Regions from separate parts of the Homo sapiens genome. Here regions 2 and 3 are each linked to region 1. The links are contacts of gene promoters, found by promoter capture Hi-C in blood cells and fetal thymus (Javierre and others, 2016). All regions are on one chromosome and are shown on one strand. The core of a region is centred on a gene start or on the middle of the fragment in contact, and the rest is flanking DNA. Distances in the headings are between cores, read along the strand shown.

Region 1 (3,681 bases), core at 513-3,012:
AGTGGGCTGTGAGGCCTTACTGGTCTCACTACAGTGAGGGAAAGAACACTGCTTCCTTCTGAAGGCTGGGACAAATGCAGCTATCACAGCCTGCCCTTCTACAATCTCTCAACACTGTGGTACGTGTGATAGACCTAACTTAGCGCCATGCCAAGCCTGATGGGAATCTCCTGTAATTTTTGTAAGGAGAGCTTTTTAGTCAGGGTTCAGCCCAGAACAGAAACTGCCCAAATATTTTTAAGAAGAAACAGAGTTACTATACAGTAACTGCCTCTTATCATGCTCAGTCTTCATGAGCTCAGTGCCCAGAGCTTTGATGCTTCTGCCTCACTTCTGCTCTCCAAATCTCATGCAAGCACATCTAATTGGCAGAAAATAATTTGCATCCAGCTCCCTAGCTGCAAAGATTATCTGGGAAATGTAGTTTTTAGCCTTCTAGCCTCTGTAGTACAGGAACACCCACTGGAAGGAAATGCTGGGTGCCCAGAGACCATATCCAGCCACATTTTCCTTTACTCAAACATTTGACCAGAGATCACTAGTACTGGTAACACCTGCCAACATTATTTCTCATGAGGGTTATGAAAAACACTGAAAAGGCACAAGGGGCAGTGTACACTATAACCACGTGGGGCTCCTATCTTCCTGTATTTCTTCCTATCCAGAGATGGATGGATTGTGGACTCTATGATTCAGAACTGATGTTTAGAGAATAAAAATAATAATAGTCACAAATGATTAATGGCTGAAATCCTGTTTCAGGATTTAGACACAAGAACTGCTCCACCGAGAGAATCTCCTTGGGGAAAGGGGCATATTTAGAAACATGCCATGTTAGGAGAACCTTAGAAATCATCAGTTTAGCATTTTCCAAAGTTTGCCAAAAACTTTTTAGATCCACATGATGCTTTACCAAAAACAAAGGGATTCAGTGATCAAATAAGTTTGGGAAACAGTGCATATCCCCATCCTGAAGAACCACGGTGCACATCAGCATATCGGAGGCTCTAGGAAGTCCTGCGGTAAGGGATCTGCTTAACTTTGGTCCACTGGTTTCCAAATGTATCTGGCCCTAGAACCTTTCCTTTTTTACACAATGCCTGTTAACCTTCTGAGGAATTGGAGTTCGACGGGACATGTGCTGTGAGGACTGGATCTAATACCAACTCCTCTTTTTCCATATGAGGAAGCTGAGGTCCAAGGCAATGAAGTTATTTGCCTGTGATCACAGAAATCCTGGGCAGTACAGGTGGGAATAAAACCAGAGTTTTTTCTTCTTCCTCACATGGCCTTATCAAAATTAATTGTCCTCCCTTACATCTCTCGGCATCATCAGTAAGGTAACAGCTACTAAGAGATGGGCTACTTAAGGAAAATCATACTTTAAACAGTACCCCACCAACATGGAAGGATTCTTTTACCCGTGGGGTCCCACAACCAACTTATCACAAAGGAAAAATGGGAGAACAGTCACTTAGCCTATGTTTACCCCTAAATGATCAGTGTTTTCAGACCAGCTGGGATATTCTTAGACTCATCTTTCTGTCAACCAAATCACAGACCATCACAAAATGACACCAAGAATACTAGTTATCTAGAATACTAGTTATCTATTACTGCAAAATAAATGATCCTGAAACCTAAAACAATAAACCTTTGTTATGCCTCAGTTTCTGTGGGAATCTTGGAGTGGCTTAGGTGTGTGGTTCTGGTGCAGCCTTTTGTGAGGTCACAGACAGAGTGTCAGCCAGGGATGCAGTCATCTGAAGACTTGACTGGGGCTGGAGAACCTCCTCTCAAGGCAACTCCCACACAAGCCTAGGAAGTTCATTCTGGCTGTTGGCAAGGGGCTTCTGTTCCTTGCCATGTGGACTGCTTGCCATAGGCTGCTTGAGTGGCCTCATCACAGACATGGTGGTTGGCTTTCCCCAGAGTGAGTAATCCGAGAGAGAGAGCAAGGAGGAAGCCTTGGTGCCTTTTATGACCCCAGTCTCAGAAGTCACATACCATCAATTCTGCCATAGTCTATCTTTATTTAGAAGTGAGCCATCATATCCCACTCACACTCAAGGGGAGAAGAGTTAGTTTCTCCCTTTTGAAGGGGGAAGTGTCAAAGAATTTGTGGATGTATTTTAAAACCACCACACCAAGAAAGAGTTGCAAGGGGGAAGGATGCTAATTAAATGACAAATAACAACAACAAACAAACAAGAAAGGCTGGGTGCAGTGGCTCATGCCTGTATCCCAGTGTTTTGAGAGACCTAGGTGGGAGGATTGCTTGAGGCCAGGAGTTTGAGACCAGCCTGGGCAACACAGGGAGACCCCATCTCAAAAAAAAAAAAAAAAAAAAAAAAGCCGGGCATGGTGGCTCGTGCCTGTAGCCCCAGCTATTTGGAGGCTGAGGTGGGAGGATAGCTTGAACCCAGGAGTTTGAGGCTTCAGTGAGCCATGATTGCACCACTGTACTCTAGCCTGTGCGACAGAGCAAGACCCTGTCTAAAAAAACAAAAAACACCCAAGAAACATTTTGAGGGTAAAAATCCATTTAGAACAAGAACAAATACTAAACAGAAACTCTGAAAGAGACCAGGAATTTAAATTTACATGGGACTTGATGCCCAACCTGAATCATTGGCATAAACATCCTTGAACTTCTTTGTAAAACAAACTTCTGAATAAAAGAACTTCTGAGAGAAAACTTCTATTGCTGGCACTGTGACTAGGGGAGTAGATGAAGGATTTGAATCAAGGATAAGCAATTCAGAGGGCATATCCAGTGGTTTGACATGTATCCTTCTAAGTTAACTTTTCCTTTCTCAAGACTTTCAATTTTCTAAATGTTCAATATCCCAACATGACCAAAAGGGTCAAATTCCAGCTCTAGTCTTCACATCTTTTTTTTTTTCCTTCTGAAGGTTTATATTCATTTCCCTATGCTGTCTGAAAGAAGATACCATGATCTAATTGCCTAAGAATTTATTTCCAAATAGTTGTTGACAGAGCCTGGAAGTCTCAGAAAGATCAGATGGATCGTATTCCTTCCTTTACTCAAGAGTTTTTTTTTTTTTTTAATTAAAACAAAAAACAAAAAACCCAGCAACAACTATGATCCCTAAAGAACTTTCCTTTGTGGCACCTGGAGTATTCAGTCAATCAACAAGCTTTTCCTGGACATATGATGGAGATGAGATGTTCTCTAGGACTCATATTGGAAGCTAAACAGAAAACAGATGCAGATACATACAATAATCACAAAAGTGGGATTGAGAAAGAGAGAGAGGAATGGGGCTGAGGCTACATCTAGGCAGCTGTGTGCAATGAGGTGGATTTATTAAGGAAAATGTTCCAGAAAAGATGAACTTAAAGCTATTCTAAATATTTGGGGGAAACTTGAGCAAAAGTTTGGAGAGAAAAGAATGAAGACTGAATTTTTAGGTCATCAAAGAGATGAACAAGGGGTGGGCTGGAATATAGTAGGAGATGAGGCTGGAAGGGGAGGGTGGAGACGGTGATTAAGATGGTTTTGAACAAACTGATCTGCAAAGAGTTCGGTGTGGTTGGAGCAATTATAGGTTGGTGCAAAAGTAATTGTGGTTTTTGCAATTAAAAGTAATGGCAAAACCGCAATTACTTTTGCTCCAACCTAATATTTTGCGAGAGGAAAAATTTTTTTCAGTATAC
Region 2 (3,681 bases), core at 473-2,972, 300 kb after region 1:
TTTTCTATTGTGAGAGCTAAACCTGTGGGATTTAGCCAGGAGTTGCTGGGGTCAGATTACCAACACCTGGTGACAACATGCCTGGGAATAAAATGAATGCACAGCAAACCAGTGTTGGGTAATGAGAGACACGGCTTCCTGATGATATTGCTTATGCCCTACCAGCCTGTAGTTATCAGATCTGTGAGCCAGTGAATTTCTCTCTTTACTTGTCAATTTAAGCTGACTTACGCCGAAGGAGCTCCATCACACCTGTTAACCTTATTTGCTGTAATGACTAATGCCTTAATTTTTACTTTTTGCCCCCAGAGTCCTTATGGGCTAAATTTATTATTTCACTTTGACAAATGTGTTGCTTTGTAAATGTAATAAACAGCTTCTCAGGCATCTGTTTAATCTCCCTAGTCTCAGACTGAAGGCCACATGGGAATTGAGGGAGTGACTTTCCCCCTTTTTGAGATGCTGCCACACCACCTAGTACCACACTCAGCCGAGAGTAAGCACTTAATTTGTCAAACATATTTATTGAAAGTCTTAAGGAGAACTGTCTGTGGAGCCAGAAGCCCTAATATGAATCCTGGCCCTGTCACTTCCTATCTGAGTAAGCTCTGGAGAGTATCTCAACCTAAGTCTCAATTCATTCCTTAGGAAAAGAGACATCGTCTTTTCTGACTTACTTCATAGGGTTGATATGAGGATGGAATCAGATACCATTTGTGGAACCTTGGTAAATGTAAAGCATTACAGAGGCAAATTAGAATTAGTATCCCTTCCCTCTTCTTGCCAGCTTCTTGCCCCTGCCTTTCACCCTGAACCCCACTAAACGTCTACTTTCAGTCTTAAAATCTTGTTTATGGTATGTTTCTGCTAGAGTTTTGAATACCTTCCATATTTTCTGACCATCAGTTGAGAATGCTTATACTTTAGGTGTATTTTTATTTATAAATTATCTCATAAATTTCTCTCTTTCCCCCACCCCTATGTTACAAAGCATATAGCAAAATTAGATTTCAAAAGGATATGGTAAAGCTGAAATTGCTAAGAATATTGTTAAGATATTTTAATTTTATGTTTAGTATAATTTTAGTCTCACCTAACTATATTACTAAAACTCCAGATGCTTCTTTTTAAATCATGATGGCATGATTTGTTCATTATGATGGCCTCATGCTCTCACTTGCTAAAATGGCCAAGGAAAAATATCTACTTGGAATGAGGCTTCCTGCTAACAATACTGGGTATAAACTTCATGTCATCTTCTTGATAATTACAGTTTTTGTAGGAGTAGGAAAAATGTCTGTTTTGTATTTCTCTGTTGTTCACTTACATTGGAGTTACTAGTTTTACCTTCAACCCACAGTTTCTTTGCGGAAATCTTTTTAACCATTCATCCATTTTATGAAGATTAACCACTCGTACACGTCAAGTCCTCTCAACTTTTTATCACATACAAATCTATTGGCATTACCTTCCAAATTGTCCAGAACCCCTCCCTTGCCATATCTTCTGCCAGCACCCTGGACCAAGCCACTATCATATGTTGGCTGAATTATTGCAAATGCCTGCTTCCCTGCTTTCCTCCTATGGCCACTTCTTCACAGGACAGCCAGACACTGCTATCCTTCTCAAATGAGTTAGGGCATGTGCCTCCTGGTTCCAAACCCTCCAGTGGCCTCTCATCTCCTGCAGAGTAAATTCAAAGGACTTGCGATTTCCTGCCCACCCTACTGTTGGCTGTGCCCATCGTGACCTGTCATCTCCTCACACTCCCATCTTTGCTCACTTGGCTTTAGCCTCACTGGCCTCCTAGCTGTTCCTTAGACACACTTGCAAACACATTTCCACCCCAGGATTTTACACTTGCCAATGTCTTTTCCTGTAATCCTCTCTTCTCACCTCTCTGCCTTCATCCTCCCTCACTTTCTTCAGAGCCTCCGCTCAAGTGATACATATAGGTGCAGACTTCCTTGACCATTCTAGGTGAGATAGCAGCCCTCTACTCCATCCCACCTCAGCAGCCCTCCACCCCATCCCACCTCTACCCCATCCTACCCTCTCTCTCTGGGCCCTGCTTTATTCTTTTCCATAGTGCCTGTCACCACCATCTGACATTTTATATATAAATATTTGTTTATTGTCTGTCTCCACAATTGAGAATATAAACTCCATTGAGAGTGGGCACTTTTGTTTTGTTTTGTTTTGTTTTTTTTGCTTATTGCTATATACTCAGTGCCTGGAACAATGTCTGGCACTCAATAAATATTTATCTTTAAATTAGTGGTCACTAATTACCTAATATCATTTCTATACCTCTAGTTGGTTGGTAAAGGGTGTTTCTGTTGAAGATGCTTTTATTCCTTCTTTCTTTTAGTTGTCTCCCTCATTAGATTATAAATATTCTATGCTTTATGGCCATTCCTAGTACTGCTTTTCTGGTGCCCTAGAACTACTGAAATCGTTATATGAAAACTGTGAATGTTGCCGAATAATGAATAGGGAATTCAGATGAAAGAGCAGATGATGTTTAAAGCATTTATCTCACAGTATTGTTTATCATTTTGGTCCATCCACCAGAGGGATCTGAAATGCCTACAGCCTCAGATGTGTGGGTCTTAAACCCAGGAAGACAAGGTCTTTCTTTCTTCTAATTTTAAGGACATTTTATAAACTGCACAGCAGGATGTGATATCTGTCCTGCAGACTAAACAGTTGAGGGACACAAAAGTCAACTGAGAAGGGCAAAGATCCTAAAATTAGCATTCTGAGTCTCATAAAATACTGTTTTTTTATTATTAATGTATCCTATGTATACTTATTTTTGTTTTTCTTCAAAGAAAAGACACAAAAGTAAATAGGGATGTCTTTAAGGCTCCAGAGGAAAGCTGATTCTCCAAGTCCTAGGATGTCGCTCTATGTAATGAAGGCCTGGTAGTCAAAGTCGTCTTTAGGCTGTAAACTCATTGAGGGCATGGATTGAACTTGCCCTTGTCTTTGCATCTCCAGCACTAGCACAGGCCTGGCATGTGGTGCTCAATAAGTGCTCATGAATTAATGAAAGCCAGGCCAATTGTAATGAGTTTATGAGGAATTATATAATGAGTCAATGATGGAGTCCTCCCCAACCCTCATTGGACATTGAATAAAAAAGTGTTTCTAGACCCTGTTGTTACATTTCCTTTGATCTGAGAATCATAAATCAAGTCAATGAGTCAAGTTATGCATTCCGAGAAAAGAAATAATTGAAATAATTTTAGATAAATGTTAGAGAAATACTAAGACAAGTGTCAGATAAGTAGTTGTCTTGGTATCTTTGGAATTGTAATGCTGATCACATACCATTATCCTGGCATTATTTTGTTTTATAAAGACGTAACTATGCACAATGAATTTGCTGTATTTGTCATGTGATATGATGGTGTTCAATGGCAGACTTTCTGTCAACCAGGCCTACCCTAGACTATTTGTGGTCATTGGCAATTCAGAAGTTCTAATCAGCCTCCTCCCCTGCCTCATTGTATGACCTTAGGGAGGCTCCTTAGCCTATTTTTGGCTCAGTTTTCTCATATATGGATTGGGAATCATTACTTTGTAATGTTTTTCTACTAGAGAATGATCTTAAAAGATTCTTAGCTGAGACTGTTTCTAATTTAAACACTGCAATTACCGGCACTGTAGAATCAA
Region 3 (3,681 bases), core at 677-3,176, 280 kb after region 1:
TCATGAAGAAGATGAATAGGCTGGGAGACTTGGCCTACAAGGTATCAAGTATTATTGCAAAGCTATAGACATTAAAAAAAATGAAATATTCACTAACAGAAAATAAAGTATAGCTAAACAGATCAACATGGATGAATCTTAGAAACATGTAACATATTGAATGAAACAAAGCCAAGTCACAGAAGACTAGAAGCAATATAACATCATGGCTGAGGCAGGAGAATGGCGTGAACCTGGGAGGCGGAGCTTGCAGTGAGCTGAGATCGCACCACTGCACTCCAGCCTGGGCGACGAGCGAGACTCCGTCTCAAAAAAAAACAACCCTTAAAATCAAGTAAAACAAAAAAATATTTTTAAGAATACCTCTAAAATGTAAAAGGATTATTTTTAAAAAGATATGAGAATACTGATGAAAAAAGGAAAAAAAATTTTGGTAGAAGGCCTTCTAGTGGAGGGGCAGGTTGATGGGAAAGGGACACAGTTGATAGGACAGTACGGATTATGTTCTAGTTGTTACACTGGGTAGCAGGTTATGAAGTTCACGTTATTAAGCTTCTTAATTGGTTGGGCACGGTGGCTTATACCTGTAATCCCAGCAGTTGGGAAGGCCAAGGCAGGAGGATCTCTTGAAGCCAGGAGTTTGAGACCAGCATGGGCAACAAAGTGAGACTCTGTCTCTACACTTTTTTTTTTTTAATTAGCCAGGTGTGGTGGCACACACCTGTATTCCCAGCTACTCAGGAGGCTGAGGCAGGAGGATCACTTAAACCCAGGAGTTGGAGGCTGCAGTGAGACAATCTCACCTCTGTACTCCAGCCTGGGCAACCAAGGGAGACCCTGTCTCTAAAAGTAAATTAAGCTTCTTAACCTACATCGGCTTTCTTAATCTTGATACTACAGATGTTTTGGGTTGGAAAAATCTTTGTTGCAGGGGCTGTCCTCTGCACTGTAGGATGTTTAGCAGTATCCCTGGTCTCTACCCACTAGATGCCAGTGATACCCCCCACCACCCCACCCCCAGCTGTGAAAACAAAAAATGTTTCCAGACATTGCCAAATGTCCCCTGCAGAGCAAAATTGCTCCCTGGTTGAGAATCACTGATCTACATATATGTTATATATACTCTTGAATGTTTTAACTATTCCATAATAAAATTAGTTTAAAATTGACGGGTAGAAGTTTCACTCTGTGAAACATAATCAGGAAGACATCATTAAGAGCTGAGTAAGCCAGAGCCTGCCGGAGTCCTTTGAAGTGACAGTGCTGAGCGGTGTGAGCTGACAGTTTCAGGAGGGTTTTGACTAGCAGATGATATTTCTATAAATTGTACTGGGTATCAGAAATCAATGACTCTACACTGGAGAAAAATGTCTGCAACCTTTCTTAATTCTTTGGGAGATCTAAAAGCTTAGTTTAGCCTTTTAGGACACCATTTAATTTTTTAAAATCAATTATGGATTTTTGAAAATGGGGCTTTGTGTTTTTATATAAACCCTTTCTTCCAAGGTACTGAAAGAGATTCATATATTTCCTTACCTTTGGGGAGTTGTCTACGTCTGTAAAGTCATCACATATCTAACAGTGGCCCCCAAATGACTGGGAAGTCTCCAGGAACATGATCCAGAGAAAATAACACTGCCGTTCTAGGATGATGCATGTCTGACAGCCCATGCTCACTATTGTAACCCATTAACCTTAGAGCCTCCCCAACTCTGTGGCTTTACTTGATAGCACCTATCTGGATTCTTTCCTTCTTTCCTTCCTTCCTTCCTTCCTTCCTTCCTTCCTTCCTTCCTTCCTTCCTTCCTTCCTTCCTTCCTTTCCTTCCTTCCTTCCCTTCCTCCCTCCCTCCCTCCCTCCCCACCTCTCCCCCCTCTCCCCTTCTCCCCCTCTCTCCCCCTCTCCCTTTCTCCCCCTCTCCCTCTCCTTCTCTTTTCCTTTCTTTCTCTCTCTCTCTCTCTCTCTGTTTCTTTCTTTCTTTCAGACGGGGTCTCGCTCTGTAACCCAGGCTGGATTGCAGGGGTACCATCAAAACTCACTGCAGCCTCAATTTCTCAGGCTCAGGAGATCCTCCTACTTCAGCCTCCTGAAGTGTTTAATTAGCCATCATGCCTGACTAATTTTTTTGAAAAATGTAGAGACAGCATCTCACTGTGCTACCCAGGCTGATCTTAAACAACTGGGCTGAAGCAATCGATCCTCCAGCCTTGGTCTCCCAAAGCGCTGTGATTACAGGCATGAGACGGCAAGCCCAGCCACCTATTTGGTTCTTATATTTGTACTACAATTCCATTTAACTCAGATGGAGAGAGTTTATTACCTTCATTTTTAAAAATGGAGAAACATAGACACAGAGAGGATACATGACTTTTTCAAGATAACAGAATCCAGAGTTAATTGATTAGAAATCGAACTGGCATGAAAATCAGGTGTCTTGAAGCTTGGTCTTTATGCTTTTTTTTTTTTTTCCTAAACCAGGCTCTGAACTACGTTTGGACATGTGTGAGTATGTTCATGCAGATGTGTGTGCATGCACATGCACGTGCACACACATCTGTGTGTCTGTGGTTTGGGGATATATGTTTGTTTCTCTGTGGATAAGGTGTCAAGGAGAAGACAAGGCAAAGGATTAAAGAGAGGAGCTAGGAGGAAAGGCGTGAAAGAAAGAGCATGAGATTGCCAGGGTGCAGTGGTGCAGCCCTATAGTCCCAGCTACTCAAGAGGCTGAAGTGGGAGAACTGCTTCAGCCTGGGAGCTCAAGACCAGCCTGGACAATATAGCAAGACCCCAATCTCAAAAAATAAAATAACATAAAAAGAGTGTCAGATTCAGAAGATGCCTTGGGCAGGAACTCTGTGGGTCTCAGTTCAACAGTAAAAGGTTATAGAATAATTGCAAGAATCTTCTACAAATATTAGTATTTTTTTAGTAGAGCTACTCAGAAGGCTGAGGCAGGAGAATTGCTTGAATCTGGGAGGTGGAGGTTGCAGTGAGCTGAGATCGTGCCACTGCACTCCAGCCTGGGCAATAGAGTGAGACTCCATCTCAAAAAAAAAAAATACATATATATATATATAAAAAAATATATATAATATATAAATATATAAATATATAAAATATATATAATATATAAATATATAAAATATATAATATATATAAATATATAAATATATATAAATATATAAATATATATAAATATAAATATATATAATATATATATAAATATATATAAAATATATATAAATATATAAAAATATAAAAATATAAATATATATAAATATATAAAAATATATAAATATATAAATATATACAAATATATATAAATATATAAATATATAAAATATAAATATATAACTATATAAATATATATAAAATATATAAATATAAATATATATAAAAATATATACGTGATTGCCATTTTTAGAATTATTATTAAAATATAATGTAGATGATAAAGCAACCCTCGTGAGTAGGATGACTCACATTTTCTCGGCACCACTCTTACCATATGTCCAGCTCAGAGGAATATTCAGTGGCTCCCAGCAAAGCATCAGGGGGCCGGTACCAGAGGGTCACGACTTCTGAAGAGTATGTCTGGCTGGGAATGGACTTGGCCCGGGCAAGACCTGTCCAAAAGGGAAAAGCATAAAACCCATCGTTCTGGACCTTGGCTTGCACCAT

Evidence for each region. The method cuts DNA at HindIII sites, captures the fragments that hold promoters and counts their contacts. A CHiCAGO score of 5 or more calls a contact.
Region 2: a contact is called between a fragment that was not itself captured here and the fragment with the promoter of KIAA2012-AS1 in region 1, in 1 of 17 cell types (megakaryocytes). The highest score is 6.7, in megakaryocytes.
Region 3: a contact is called between a fragment that was not itself captured here and the fragment with the promoter of KIAA2012-AS1 in region 1, in 4 of 17 cell types (megakaryocytes, erythroblasts, endothelial precursors and 1 more). The highest score is 7.6, in megakaryocytes.

What each region holds. Positions count from the first base shown.
Region 1 is chr2:202,115,139-202,118,819 of GRCh38, reverse strand. KIAA2012-AS1 (KIAA2012 antisense RNA 1) reads left to right here and starts at 1,762. Exons shown (of 4, transcript NR_135244.1): 1 at 1,762-1,933; 2 at 2,916-3,681. The region is part of intron 11 of KIAA2012; the gene reads right to left. The HindIII fragment of the contact is 4,910 bases long and covers 1-3,163 here.
Region 2 is chr2:201,817,490-201,821,170 of GRCh38, reverse strand. The region is part of intron 4 of CDK15 (cyclin dependent kinase 15); the gene reads right to left. Among named protein-coding and RNA genes, the nearest start is that of CDK15, 13 kb to the right of the region's middle. The HindIII fragment of the contact is 4,348 bases long and covers 1-3,681 here.
Region 3 is chr2:201,835,588-201,839,268 of GRCh38, reverse strand. It overlaps CDK15 (cyclin dependent kinase 15), which reads right to left. Exons shown (of 14, transcript NM_001366386.2): 8 at 3,506-3,626. Among named protein-coding and RNA genes, the nearest start is that of CDK15, 31 kb to the right of the region's middle. The HindIII fragment of the contact is 1,033 bases long and covers 1,410-2,442 here.